Linked DNA regions of Homo sapiens: region 2 is linked to region 1. Evidence: promoter capture Hi-C in 16 types of primary human blood cells and fetal thymus (Javierre and others, 2016). All regions are on one chromosome and are shown on one strand. The core of a region is centred on a gene start or on the middle of the fragment in contact, and the rest is flanking DNA. Distances in the headings are between cores, read along the strand shown. Region 1 holds the start of NEGR1 (neuronal growth regulator 1). Region 2 overlaps NEGR1 (neuronal growth regulator 1).

Region 1 (6,275 bases), core at 2,708-5,207:
TTGTTCTAGAGCAGAGTTATATTCCCCTGAATTCTCCAGTTCTAGAAACACTGGGTACTGAAGCATAACCAATGTGGTTCTAGCACTTCCTGTTCTCTACTAGATCAGCCCATGACACATTAACTCAGATCTTCCATGTTCACAAAATGCAACTCAAAACATGGAAAAAAAGTAAATGTCTCCATACAAGATTAACAAGTTCTGTTAAGAATAAAATACTGTATATATTAAATGTAGTAGCAATTAAAGTCTATATTTAATAAGTTAATGGCAACAGTTTGTGTTTATAGCAAATTACAATGTATTTTAGACATCATATATTTTTTAAATACAAAGCTTAAGAAAGGGAAATATCAAACATTACTATATTGAATATCTGTATCATTAAATACTTTATCAAGAAGGTCCAAATAATTCAAGTGAATCATTCAGAAATTTAGCACAGAATAACATTATTAAAAGTAAGAAACATCTTTACACTTCATATATATGGCTTCACTAACCCTAAAAGACAAAGTTAAAATGATAAAAATATTAAAATTATTAAGTGGAATGTCATCATAAATCCTGTATTTAAGCTAAACAGAAAAGATGATTTACAAAATGATAGATACAGTTAGATAACAGAATGAATTTCCCTTGGGTATTATAACTCCACTTAAGGAAAGTTTTGTTTTTCATGATCCTCTTCTCAAAAACAGATATTCTGGCACTTAGGAGACAGAAATGTATCATTTGACCTTTAAACTTCTGTTTTATTAGTGTAACCACAAGCAACAGAGTCACTGACTGGCATGTTTGCACTTTATGGCCTTTAGCACTTAAAATTATTTGATAACTGTTATGCCACTATTTGTTTTTTATTAAAGACACTGTGAGGAATATGTTACATTAAAAATAGAATATATTGGGCTAAGCTTGATGAATGATATGTAATTTGGTTAAGTGTTCTCTTGAGCACTTCATTCATGTATTTTGATGGGACAAGGGCATATGTTTGAAGGGTAGAATTTTGTTTTGTTTTCTAGTGAGTTAGAGAATAACAACAGATATGGTTTTAAGTATACAAAGAAAAAACAAAATATAACTGTAACATTACTCTTGATTAAAAAACGATGCATCACCTGAGTTGCCTATACTCAATTAGTCCTTAAGCTCTATCTGTAATGGTCTATGATCAGAGGAAATTACCAGCTGTAGAGAAGAGTCAAGAAAAAAATAACTGACAATATTTAACATTTTCTAATGGAGAGAGAATTTCTTATAAATGGATACGTTAAATTAGTTTAAAACCTACAGACAATGTAAGAAGTTCAACAACTGGATAATTCTTAGAGAATTTCAGAATTACTGTAAGCAAATTGCTTTGAGTAAAAGTAATGCAGTTCAAATTTCTATTTCATATGATAAAAAAATTTAAAAACTAAAATCTAATTTGTTAGAAACATTATTGAGAAGACACAGAGACTCTGTTCTCTTTAAGAAGTTTGAAAGTCAAGTTCCCTCAGTATCACAAAATGCGGGATATAGCATCAAAATGGATGAGGTACAGAGCACACAAAGTAAACAAGGACTGCACCAAACCAACAACACTGGAAATATATGGTCCCCACATATTAGGGAAGCTCCACTGTTGGAAGCAATGAGTGAACTAAACATGGGTCTCCTGGAAGCAGAATGTGGGTCCAGCTATCTTCACTAACCATAGTATTTATTAAATTGTTGTTTGTTTGGGAAACCAAATGCCAGGATACATTATTGAAAGAAAAGCAGTCTCCTAAACCCTTTAGGGTGGAAATGGTAATGCTCACTACAAATAAGCAATATGTTGCTTGCTACAAAAATACATATTGCAGCTCCCATGATATGTGTTTGCAATCTCTGAAGATAGTGTCTTGCCCTTACCACTGTTGTTCAAACTTCTAAAACAAACTTAACATAAAGAGAAAATACAGGCTTAATTTATATCCTCTCTGTGACAAAGAATTTATCACTGTTACCAACAATGAAAAGTTTTTTTTTACTGTGTAATATCAAAGATATTAGTTACTTTTGTATATAGTGGCATTTGTTATTCAAAACAGAAATTATTAAAAACATATGTATTAGTGTATATTAAAAAATACGATAGTATTCCAAATTTGAACTCATAGGCATGTTCCAAAAGGTGTAAGTCATATACCACACCCACATCATTAAATTTAAATATGTTGCATGTTTCAAACAGAAACATTTCCCACTCTCTTTCACCTTAGACATGTCATGTACACTGATGTTGTGCAAGCCAGACTTACAAGCCAACTACCACCCAGTGGAGAAAAAGAAGATCTTTCAGGGAAATGTGAGGTGGGGTGGCAGGGGGAGAAGGGAGGGTGATGGGAAAGAAATGAAGGAATAGGGCGTTTAGCTTTGTTTAGATCTAAGCTTTGCTGATCATCCATTTATATTTTCATAGGAAATAAAATATTCCCAGACTCCCACTCTGCAGTGTTGCTTAGGGGTAAAATCAGGGTATGGATGTTTATTAATGACAAACCACCTCAGAGCTCAAGCTCAGAGGAAAGAAGGGAAAATGAGAAAAATAAGTAAAAGTGAAGACTGATGGAGGGAGGAAGGTAGGAATAAAAAGGGGATAGAAAGACACAGAAAGAGAAAAAGAGAGAAGCAGAGACAGAGTGAGAGCAGCGAGTGAGACAGGCAGTGTGTACACATGTGTGAGTGACAATGTGGAACAGAGAAGGAGAGTATGCCTTTTAAAAACAGTGAGAGACAATCTGAATGTGGAAGTGGTTCTTACAGCATGGAAGTGCCAGTGCATGTGAGGATGTGAGAGTATGTGAGTTAGTATGTTTATGGAAATAAGATTTATGAGGGTGAGTAAATGGTACTGGAGGGGAACAGTGACCATGCCTGTGTGTGCCACAGGGGTGGGAAACGGTATGGGGAGAGGGATGAGAAATGGGAGTCAAAAGAGGGAAGACAGGGCACAGGATAGGGACATTAAGGAGGAATAAAAAAAATAGACAAAAAGAAAAAAGGGTAAAAGAGAGGAGGAAAGGGGATTAAATGTGAGGAACAGAAATTAGAGTCGTGGAGATAAAAATGAGAAAATATGAGAAGAAATTTTAAAAAGGAGGGAAAAAACAGAAAATAGAAAAGGTATGAAAAGAGATATTGGAGGGAAAAAGAGTTACAAGGAGGTGGGGAAAATGGTATAAGAGAATGAGGAAGGAGAAAAGAAAGAAAACAGAAAGCGGTAAAAGGAAAGAAAGATAAAGAGCAAGAAATCGAGCCTAAGTGTCCAAGTGAGAGGGAAAATAAATGGGAGCAGAGAACAGCAGTTTGAAAGAGTCGCTTATGCTGGAGTAAAATAGAAACAAACCTGATAAACTTGTCAGACTCTCCAGGAGTACCCCATGACAGTAAAACAGAGACCTTGTGCATTGAGTTTCAAAGTGGCACCTGCCCCTCCTTCTAAACCTGACAGTTCACTCATCCCCAGGCTACTTGGCGTTCCGGCAAAGTGCTTTAGCATCACGAGTCCAGCTTGCTACCTGCCCCAGCATAAACGGGCCGGGGCTCCGGGAAGAATCTGCACCTGGAATTCTTGGGATGTGGTCTTTCCATGATGAGCACCACCAGCATTATTGCTTGTGTTATAAAGAAGGCAAAGAGGGTTCAAAGAGAGACAGAAAGATAGACCGAAACAAGTACGAAAAGCACGCCGTTCTTCCTACCTAAGCACCGCCGTGTCCCCTTTTCTGACCATCATGTTGTCCACGGCCGCCCAGGGGAAGTCCACACTCTGTCCAGCCGGGAGGCAGGAGGGTAGCAGGCAGCACAGGCTGAGGAGCACCGCCGCCAGCCACTGGTTCGAGCAACAAGCACCCTGCACCAACAGCATCATGTCCATCCCTGCTAGGGCTGCTCACTCTCCAGCAGCTTTCAGCTCGCACTCCCCCACCCCCTGGTGCTGGCGAGTCTTCCCGGGAACCAGGCGGCGCGCCACAGGATTTTTTTTTTTTTTTTTTTTTTTTTTTTTTTTTGGTGGGTGGGTGGGTTTCTTTTCTTTCTTTCTTCCCCCCACCCCAGTTGTTGGGTGTTGTTTCTCTCTTTTTGTTTTTCGGTGTTTTTGCCTCCCCTCCTCCTCTTCGCTTTCCCTCCCTCCCTCCCCTCCCTCCCCCTGGCACCACACTACACCTCCTCTCGGTTGCTTTTGGCCGCGTCCGGAGTGTGTCTAATTCTCGGGCGGCTCGCACACCATCTAGCGAGGAGGCGAGCGCGCCGGCGAGTGAGGGAGGAGGCGCGGCGGCGGGGGAGGAGGCAGGGCGAGCGGCGGCGGCGGCGGCTGCAATCCCAGCAGCAGCAGCAGCAACAGCAACAGCAGCAGCAGAAGCAGCGCGGAGCGCTGCGCCGGCCGCCGGCTCCCGGGCTCGCGCGCGTTGCCAAGCGGCCGTTTCCTTAGCAACCCCGCCAGGGGACTGGGGATGGAGAAGGGAGGGGGATTAAAAAAATAATAAAAAAAGAAAGAAAAAAGATAGCAAGAAAAAAAAAAGAAAAGCAAGACAACGAAAAAAAAAATAGGAGGAACTGTATCACAATTATGCAAACTAAGGGGGAAAGAGAGGCACCTTAGAATGAAGGCTCTCCTTACTGTCGTAAGCGCTAGAGGGATTCTTTGCTAGAAAAGTCTCCGTGTCAGGGCTGGGGTGAAGAGAGCTGAGGGGCGCTTTGCCTTCCCTCACCGGTGCGTTTTACCTCTCGAGGCACCGTAAGTTTGAAGTCCTCCAAGTTGTGGTCGGCGCCATCATGACGCCGGCGACTGTGAGTTGTTTTTTTGTTTATTTTCTTCTAATCTTGCCTGGGTGGCTACGCTGCAGTTAGCGAGCAGCCAACTAGTTCTCTCTGCGTTTTCTCGGGAATAGGTAGGGACGGTGGCGGGGCGCTGCTTTTTTGCGGGGACACGAGGAGGTGCAAGGCCTTGCGGCAGAGCAGCTTGCGTGTTTGTGGCGGTCGGCCCGTATGGATTGCAGGACGCCCCTCTTTTATCTGTGGGTGTTGACACTAAGTTGTGTGTGTGAGTAGGGGATTGTTTATGGTCAACATGGAGTGTGTGTGTGATAGAGAGCGTGTCGTGCGCGCGGGGGCCTGTGCACGCGCGGCACGCAGGCGCGCTGGGAGGGACGGGGCGGGTCATGCTGGGATGTAGAGTCGGGAAAAGACTGCAATCAAGTGTTTTAATTGTGTAGAGCCCAGGCGGTCCAGTTATGTAAGAGGCAGTTTAACCCATTTGAGCCTATCAGGCCGAATAATCGGCGCATCCGAGTCAAGGCAGGGCAGAGTTAAGGGGTTTAACGAGTCGCAGGGTTGTATTTCTTAACAGCCTCCACACCGCGTTAACAGGCTTGCTCCTCCGCGGTGCAGAGCGGTAACCTCCGCTTCCCCACGCAGCAGCCCCTCCGCAGCTCGCCGGGCTGTTTTCAGCCCTGCCCTGGCCCAAGGCAGAAGGAGATACTAGGCGTGGGGCCACCCCTACTCTTTTTTCTTCTTTCCTTCTTGAACTCATTTCCAGATTCAAGATCCTTAAGCTTTTCCGGGCCATTTGCAAATCAATGCGAGAACCGAGGCTGAGTCGTTAGCAGTTACACCAATCAATCTTGTTCAGCGAGGAGTTTGGGAAGCAGAGCGGGGAAGTGAAAATGGAAAATAAGTAATTAAAAAATAAGCTCCCTCCCCCTCACACACTTTTTCCCTTCCTCCACCCCATCCCCCTTTAGCAGTGTTTGAAGAAGATATTCTTTGCCAGATCCCAGTTCTTCTTTTGGAGGAAATGAAGCAAAACCTCACACGTCCGTAACTCGTTTTCCATAATGCTAGCAGGGTCATTTGGCAAAGCGCACCGAAGCAAGACTCTCTGCAGGGGTCAGCATCCGGCTGCCTCCGCAGACTGAGCTCTTTACGAGGCAGGCAGGGAGTCGTTTTGCTTGGTGGTAGCAGTGTTCAGAGTGATTTTTATCGCCATGCACGGGGATATATGGGGAAAGGGAAGGGTTCCCATCACCTGTGACCACCCAGACTGGCTTACAGACGAATCCTTAACTAGCAACACCTCCCTGCTGAACTGGCACTCCAAGGCTGGGCAGCTAACGGAGACATTTGCGTCAGGAGTCACTGATGTTAGTATTCTGCCTTAACTCTCAAAACCGACTCGGAAACTGAGAGTGCAATAGTTTCAACCGCATTTTGAAACATCAATAAAATGTTAGTCATTTGCG
Region 2 (6,275 bases), core at 1,823-4,322, 700 kb before region 1:
ACTCTGCATTCAGTAACATCACTTGGTAGCTTGAAATCAGCCATGGTGGGAATGTTTATACCATGGAAACCGGCAAATGGTCCAAGTTACAGGTTGATTTATTGCTTAGTTCATTGTCGAGACTTAAGAAAATGATGAAGTGAATATTAATAGGGATTAAACGTAATGTGTCATGTCTGTGGCCATTACATTAATGTCGACACAAAAAATTGGGGAAATTTTCTTGCAGTATTCCAAAACTATTCTCCGATTCAGCAAAAAAGTTGCACAGGTTATTTTCATCTAACTCATTACCACAAAAATATCATGTCTTATTCGAGTTAGAATAATCCTCATAGGTAGAATACAGCTCCATGTGGAACATCATGCATGTCACATGCATGGATTATAATCATGGGCTGGTTACAGATACATGATTCTGCCAAAAATCAGTGAAAGAATCTGTGAGAAGCAACTGACTATATGGAATTTACAATAAAGATAATTGCATATTTTCTTACTATTTGTAAGTCTCATTATACACAATTTTTTTTTTTTTTTTAAATTTGAGACCGGGTCTCACTCTGCCGTCCAGGCTGCAGTGCAGTGGCGTGTTCTCGGCTCACTGCAGCCTTGACCTTCTGGGCTCAAGTGATCCTCCCACCTCAGCATTCCAAGTAGCTGGGATGACAGGTGTAGACAACCACATTCAGTTAATTTTGTGTATTTTTTGTAGAGATGGGGTATTGCCATGTTGCCCAAGCTGGTCTTAAACTCCTGGGCTCAAGCAATCCATCTGCATCAGCCTTACAGAATGCTGGGATTACAGGACCAAGGCACTATGCCTGACCTACACACATCCTTTACTTCAGTTAAATATTTAACAATTCACCACTAAATGTATCATAGTGAAGCCATTAAAATATTACTTAGGAAGACTGAATAAAAATATGGAGACATTTTTGCAAGGTATACAATTGATTTTTTTAATGATATTGTAAAATAAACACATGGAGATGGTATGGTTATGTGAAAATGAAAGAAGTTTTGTGAGGAGGGTAGATAATGTACAATTGATATACAGTACAAAGGGAAAAACTATAGAAAATATAAGTGTTTAACAAAAGACTGTTATGATGCAGAAAAGCATCTTGTAATGTTTCTTCATGCCAATCTTATAAAATATTTTGGAAAGAAAGGGAGGGATTTGTCATAGAATACAATCCTATACAGACCCACAGACTATTATTTTGCTTCATAACCATATATATATTTTTTTAACTTTTGCCTCTAGAACTATAAAATGGAGTGTGTTTCTGGCCTTTCTCTCTATCTAATAGCAGCATATTATTTTGCCTTATTTTTTCTCATTAATTTTCATTTCCTCTAAATTTTAGTACACATATGGAAGGAGCAGATCTCATCTTTTCAAAGTCAGAAGAGATTCTCTGGGGGAAACAAAGTTTTCTCAAATCAAAACAAATATGAAAACAAGGAAACAAAATATGCTTTGGGCAGCCAATTCTGTGACTAAGATAATATTTTAAAAAAGTAATCCTGCTTTTCCCCAGAAATGTATGAGAAAATCTTTCTGCAAATTTCAAGCACAAGCAAGTTGCCTCCCAAATTGGCCATTTGCACTCCAGGGCTAAAGCTGAAAGCGCACAGAATTGCCTGAGTAATTCAATTGCAGGCAGAATCAATGCAAGTGTGAACGCTGCCCTGGTCAAAGGTTGGCCCTTAGGCTGCAACTTAAATCAATTTTGGGTAAGCTAAGTTTGATTACATTTTCAGTGATGAAGCTTTCAAAAGCAATTTTGGGCTTCCCTATTCAGAGGCTGTTTGGTTCCGTTCTGAATCTATACTCCTGGTTAGAGAAGCATCTATCTGTCTCTTTTGGTGATGATTAAGTCCTGGAGTTGAGGAGAAATAAGAGGAAGAAAATAAGAGGAAGGGATACAGAAAGTAAAAATAAATAAATAAATAAATAAATAAATAAATAGGTGAGAGCCTATCACTAATGTGAGTCAGTAACGTAAAAAAAACTTTAAAAAATATATGACTATCACAACAATAAGACAGGGAAAAGAATTAAGGAGGATGGTAACAAGGAAACGAAAATAATAAATGGAAGATTTATCATGATGGTGATATGTGGCAGCCTAAGATTATTTTAGCATGTGAGGCTCATTCTTTCAGGTGTTGCTGGCAGGAAGAATGTTAGAGAAATACAGGTGGTTCTGCAGAATGAAGCAAAATGGGTGTAAGAAAGGATGTCAAATATGGCCTCCAACAGGCACATGCTAGCCTGAGAGAAATAAACCCTTTCAATTTATCCTTTTCCAGCAGAGTCAAGCCTGCAGAGTTGATGTGCATCTATCACTTATGCAAGTCTTCCTAAAAAATGTGTTTACTTAGTTAATGTTAGTCAGTTTGATTATAGTTATTATCTACAGTTTGTATGCATATCATAAACTAAGTGCTCCCAAGGAGTTATAATTTTTTTGAGAAAATACAAATTTCCCTATAGTTATGGTCACTAATTCTTAGAGCAAATACTATTATTCTGCCCGTTTTAGGAAAACATATATGTTGTTACTCTTGTCTTAGGAAGTGTTTTAGAAAACTTGGAATTCATTCTAAGTGGACTGATTAGTGACTTTAATGGTTCTTCAGCAAGAATTATGATCTGCCTCACTAATTAAGCAGCTCCACATATGCACTAATTGGATTGACTCAAAGAAAGGAACCGAAGATTATGCAACTATCTAAAAAACACATTTGAGAGCTAGGAAACTGAAGTTGCTTCATTTCTTTAAAACTGTTGAAAGAGAAGTGTTGCTTAAAAATAGGCTAAAATTCGGAAAATCCAACCTACTATAAATGCCTGGCCAGAGCATAGGTGAAATAACATTTCCATGCAAGCAAGTCTGGCTTGGTTTATTCAAATCTTGTCTAACTATATACTGGGTGGATAGTTAATTTGTATCTCTGCAGAGAAATCCCAATTGAATTACATTTATAAAGAAAGGAAACCCTGTCCACACTGAATAGACACATTCAATGAGGACATGCCATTTTCAGTCTTTTCCCTAGCAGTTTTATGGATTCTAAAACTGAATTTAGAGTGCTTTAGAGAAAGAGTGGCCCACTGAAATATTATTGCTTTCACAGTTAATTCCTCCTCTTTTTACCTTTATCTGGAACATCAGAATGGCCAAAAAAAGAGCCAATTTCAATTTACTTTTTCGTTTAGTGGAGTACCCTAGTAACTATGTTTCACTCTGACTAAAGAGAAATAGGAAGTTTAATCATAATGATACTCAGACCTTCATAATAATCATTTTGTTCACACGTATTCCTGGATCTTTTATTAGGGGTCACATTTCCATTTTCAGAGAAAGAAATCACAGCACAGAAGCGAAGATGATACAGTGGCCCAGACTTTGCCACCTTATTACGTGCTCAAACCATTGGATCCCACTTTAGATGGAGTCAAAATTACAGGGAACACAGTGCACGCTTGATAAGTATGCTCCAAGAAACTTCTCAGAAGTGCTGGGAAAGAAATATCTCACAGGACCTCCAAAAGGCTTTGTAAGAGAAAAGATCAGGAAAGTCATACTGAAGAAAGACTCTGTTAATCTGTTTTCTTTTGACTGGAAATGTTGGCATGTTTTCATTTTTACAAAGTCCTAATAGTCACAACGCCATATACTCAAGTCACATTTTGGCCTAATTAGTTATAGGATTAGAGCTGTGTGAAATAAAATAGCAAGCAAGAATGTCTATTCTAGTGCCTTTTTCATAGGTTACTGGCCAAGGTTGTTGCAACTGTGAACATAAAGGAAATTTCTCTGGAGAGTAAAATTCTGTGTAGAGATGACAAAATGATTAGGCCAGCAGTGCTCTTGAGCTAAGTTTTATGGAAACTCACTACAGAGACAAGCACATTAAGATGCATTTTTTTGTCGAATAAAAATAATTTTGAGTTCAATAACAAAAATATACAGAAGGTAAAAATATTGGCAGCACTTCTACTTTGTTAAGGAGTAAGTTTAACTTTAAAAAATAACAATCAATCAATACATACTATCTTTTAAACATGCATAGATTTCTTAGGATCTGAAAACATTACAGCTGAAAGGTAACATGGAGACTAGTTAGTCTAGTCCCCTCATATTATAAATTGGTATGCTGAGGCCAGGCAGTAAATTGCTATGGAGCTCTCCAATTTAAGGCCAGTTTGACTCCAAGGGTAGGGCTTCTAGTAAAATTTTGTGATTAAATTGGAAACTCTAATTTATTTTTCTATGTGTTTTTGGTACCTAATCCTCATAAGCAAGCCATATTTCAAGGCTGATCAATGACAACACCAAATACCAAAGCTTCCTTTCCCTTCCAAATTTACTGACCCTTTGTCAGCTGTGGGAAATGTATGTGCTGTACCAGTAGCTTGAAGATGCCACTGTCAAATTGCCTCAATCTGGGAGAAACACATCAGTAGAGTAATTAATCTTGTACAACCTCTCCATCTTTTTTTTTTTTTTTTTTTTTTTACTCATTACAAGTGAATGCTTATGTGCATGGCTGATTTAATTAATAATTGTAATAAAAAGGACAATATCATAATGATATACATAGTGCATTAACAAATGAATCAAAGGACCAGTGCTGCTAATTTGTCTATCCAGTGAAATAAAGTTACACAGTTATTCAGGTTATATAGATCTGTGCTTGCCTGTGTTTACCCTTCAACATTTGAATTATACATGAGAAGGACAGAAGAGGAAACCAGCATTTAATAGGCACTTGTTTTAGACTAGTAGTGTATTGGCCATTTTGCATGTCCTCTCATTTAATCTTCACAATAATCCTATAAAAATAATTTATTTTCCCCTATTTTATAGGTCAGGTGACTAAAGTATCTACAATCCTTCATGAAGGATTATAGTTTTAACTTGGATCTGCTCGATTCAAAGCTTTTGGTGTTCCACCTGTGTAGTGGGAAAAGCACTGGAACAAGGGTAGTAAAAACGAAATTCTAGCCCTAGTTATGTTGCTTGACTTTGGTCTCTGACTCATCCTATTTGGGTTTCAGTTTCCTCACCTATAAAGTGAAAAAACTGGTTTAGACAAGAAGTTTTCAAAACAAATTATTTGGAACTGTATGACACCTTGAGAGGCTTCAAGGCCGCTATGTAATGTGATGGGTAGGAAAATAAGATTTGTCTCCAACTTAACCAAACTAACTCCAGTTTTATCTTTGTTATACATTAAGAGTTTGCATAGGTTTTATTTGGAGGAATAAAGGGTTTCATTGCTTAAGAAAGTTGGAAGAATTGACTATGTAAAATCTGAGACATCTTCTAGCTCCAATTTCTGTCAATTGACAAACGTAACTAAAGCTCCGCTAACTGATATGTGGTTTTCACTAGAGGCAATTTGGTGACCTGGAGCACCATAAACTTCAACAGTCACTCTGACTGCTTCAGCCTGCTGGTTATCGTCTCTCCCATATGCCACTAAATGACCATTTGGTGTCTATCTTCTTGAAAATACATACATGTTCCAGGTATGAGATTGAAGAGGTAAAATATTCTCTTGCTTTACTCATACTACACTTCAGCAAATTTGTATACTTTCATGACTTATGTGATGATTATGTCTGTGTGTGTTATTTTTGTTTGGTAGAGAACGACTTGATAGGCCTGTGTAGCTGGATCAAATTCTGCCTACAACTGCAAACCTAATTTTTGTCAAATATTTATTACCAGAGCACCAAGGAAAGCCTTCTCATTAACATCTCAAAGCTGCGAGGATAAAGCAGGTTGTCTCACACAGCACTCTGTCTTCAATAATCACCAAGTCTAAATTTATTACTGCCTCTTTCAACCAAAATGAAAACCCCATCTCCTTTAAGTTGCAAGAGGAGAGATAAATTTCTATCTAAAATGGGAGTCATTCACATCTGTGGTATCACCTTTCAGGGTTCATTATAATAGGTAAAAGTAACAGAGCCCATACAGTTGCTTACTGGCATGTGGGAACATCTGAAGCAAGCAGAGAGCTGAAATATTACTTGCAAGGACACAGCTAGTTTCATATTCAACAAATCAGTTGAAAGGTACTGTTCGCTTGCATCGGTTGAATCTAACCAGGGAAAAACAGTTACATTACTCTCTCTTACTTTCTCCAGTAGACTCTTCCATTTCCTTTTGGATACTAGCTACTGACTTCTTTTTTATCTGAAAAGAAAAGAAGCCCATCACATTAAACAGGCTGGGAAGAAATTT

The links. The method cuts DNA at HindIII sites, captures the fragments that hold promoters and counts their contacts. A CHiCAGO score of 5 or more calls a contact.
Region 2: a fragment that was not itself captured here is called in contact with the fragment with the promoter of NEGR1 in region 1 in 1 of 17 cell types (fetal thymus); the score reaches 6.0 in fetal thymus.

What each region holds. Positions count from the first base shown.
Region 1 is chr1:72,278,582-72,284,856 of GRCh38, forward strand. It overlaps NEGR1 (neuronal growth regulator 1), which reads right to left and starts at 3,958. Exons shown (of 7, transcript NM_173808.3): 1 at 3,738-3,958. The coding sequence starts at 3,913. It overlaps LOC105378797 (a long non-coding RNA gene), which reads left to right and starts at 4,353. Exons shown (of 6, transcript XR_947506.3): 1 at 4,353-4,824. RefSeq lists silencers at 4,145-4,204, 4,305-4,394 and an enhancer at 5,776-6,275. The HindIII fragment of the contact is 3,164 bases long and covers 2,423-5,586 here.
Region 2 is chr1:71,581,174-71,587,448 of GRCh38, forward strand. All of the region lies in intron 6 of NEGR1 (neuronal growth regulator 1), which reads right to left. Among named protein-coding and RNA genes, the nearest start is that of NEGR1-IT1, 250 kb to the right of the region's middle. The HindIII fragment of the contact is 2,586 bases long and covers 1,780-4,365 here.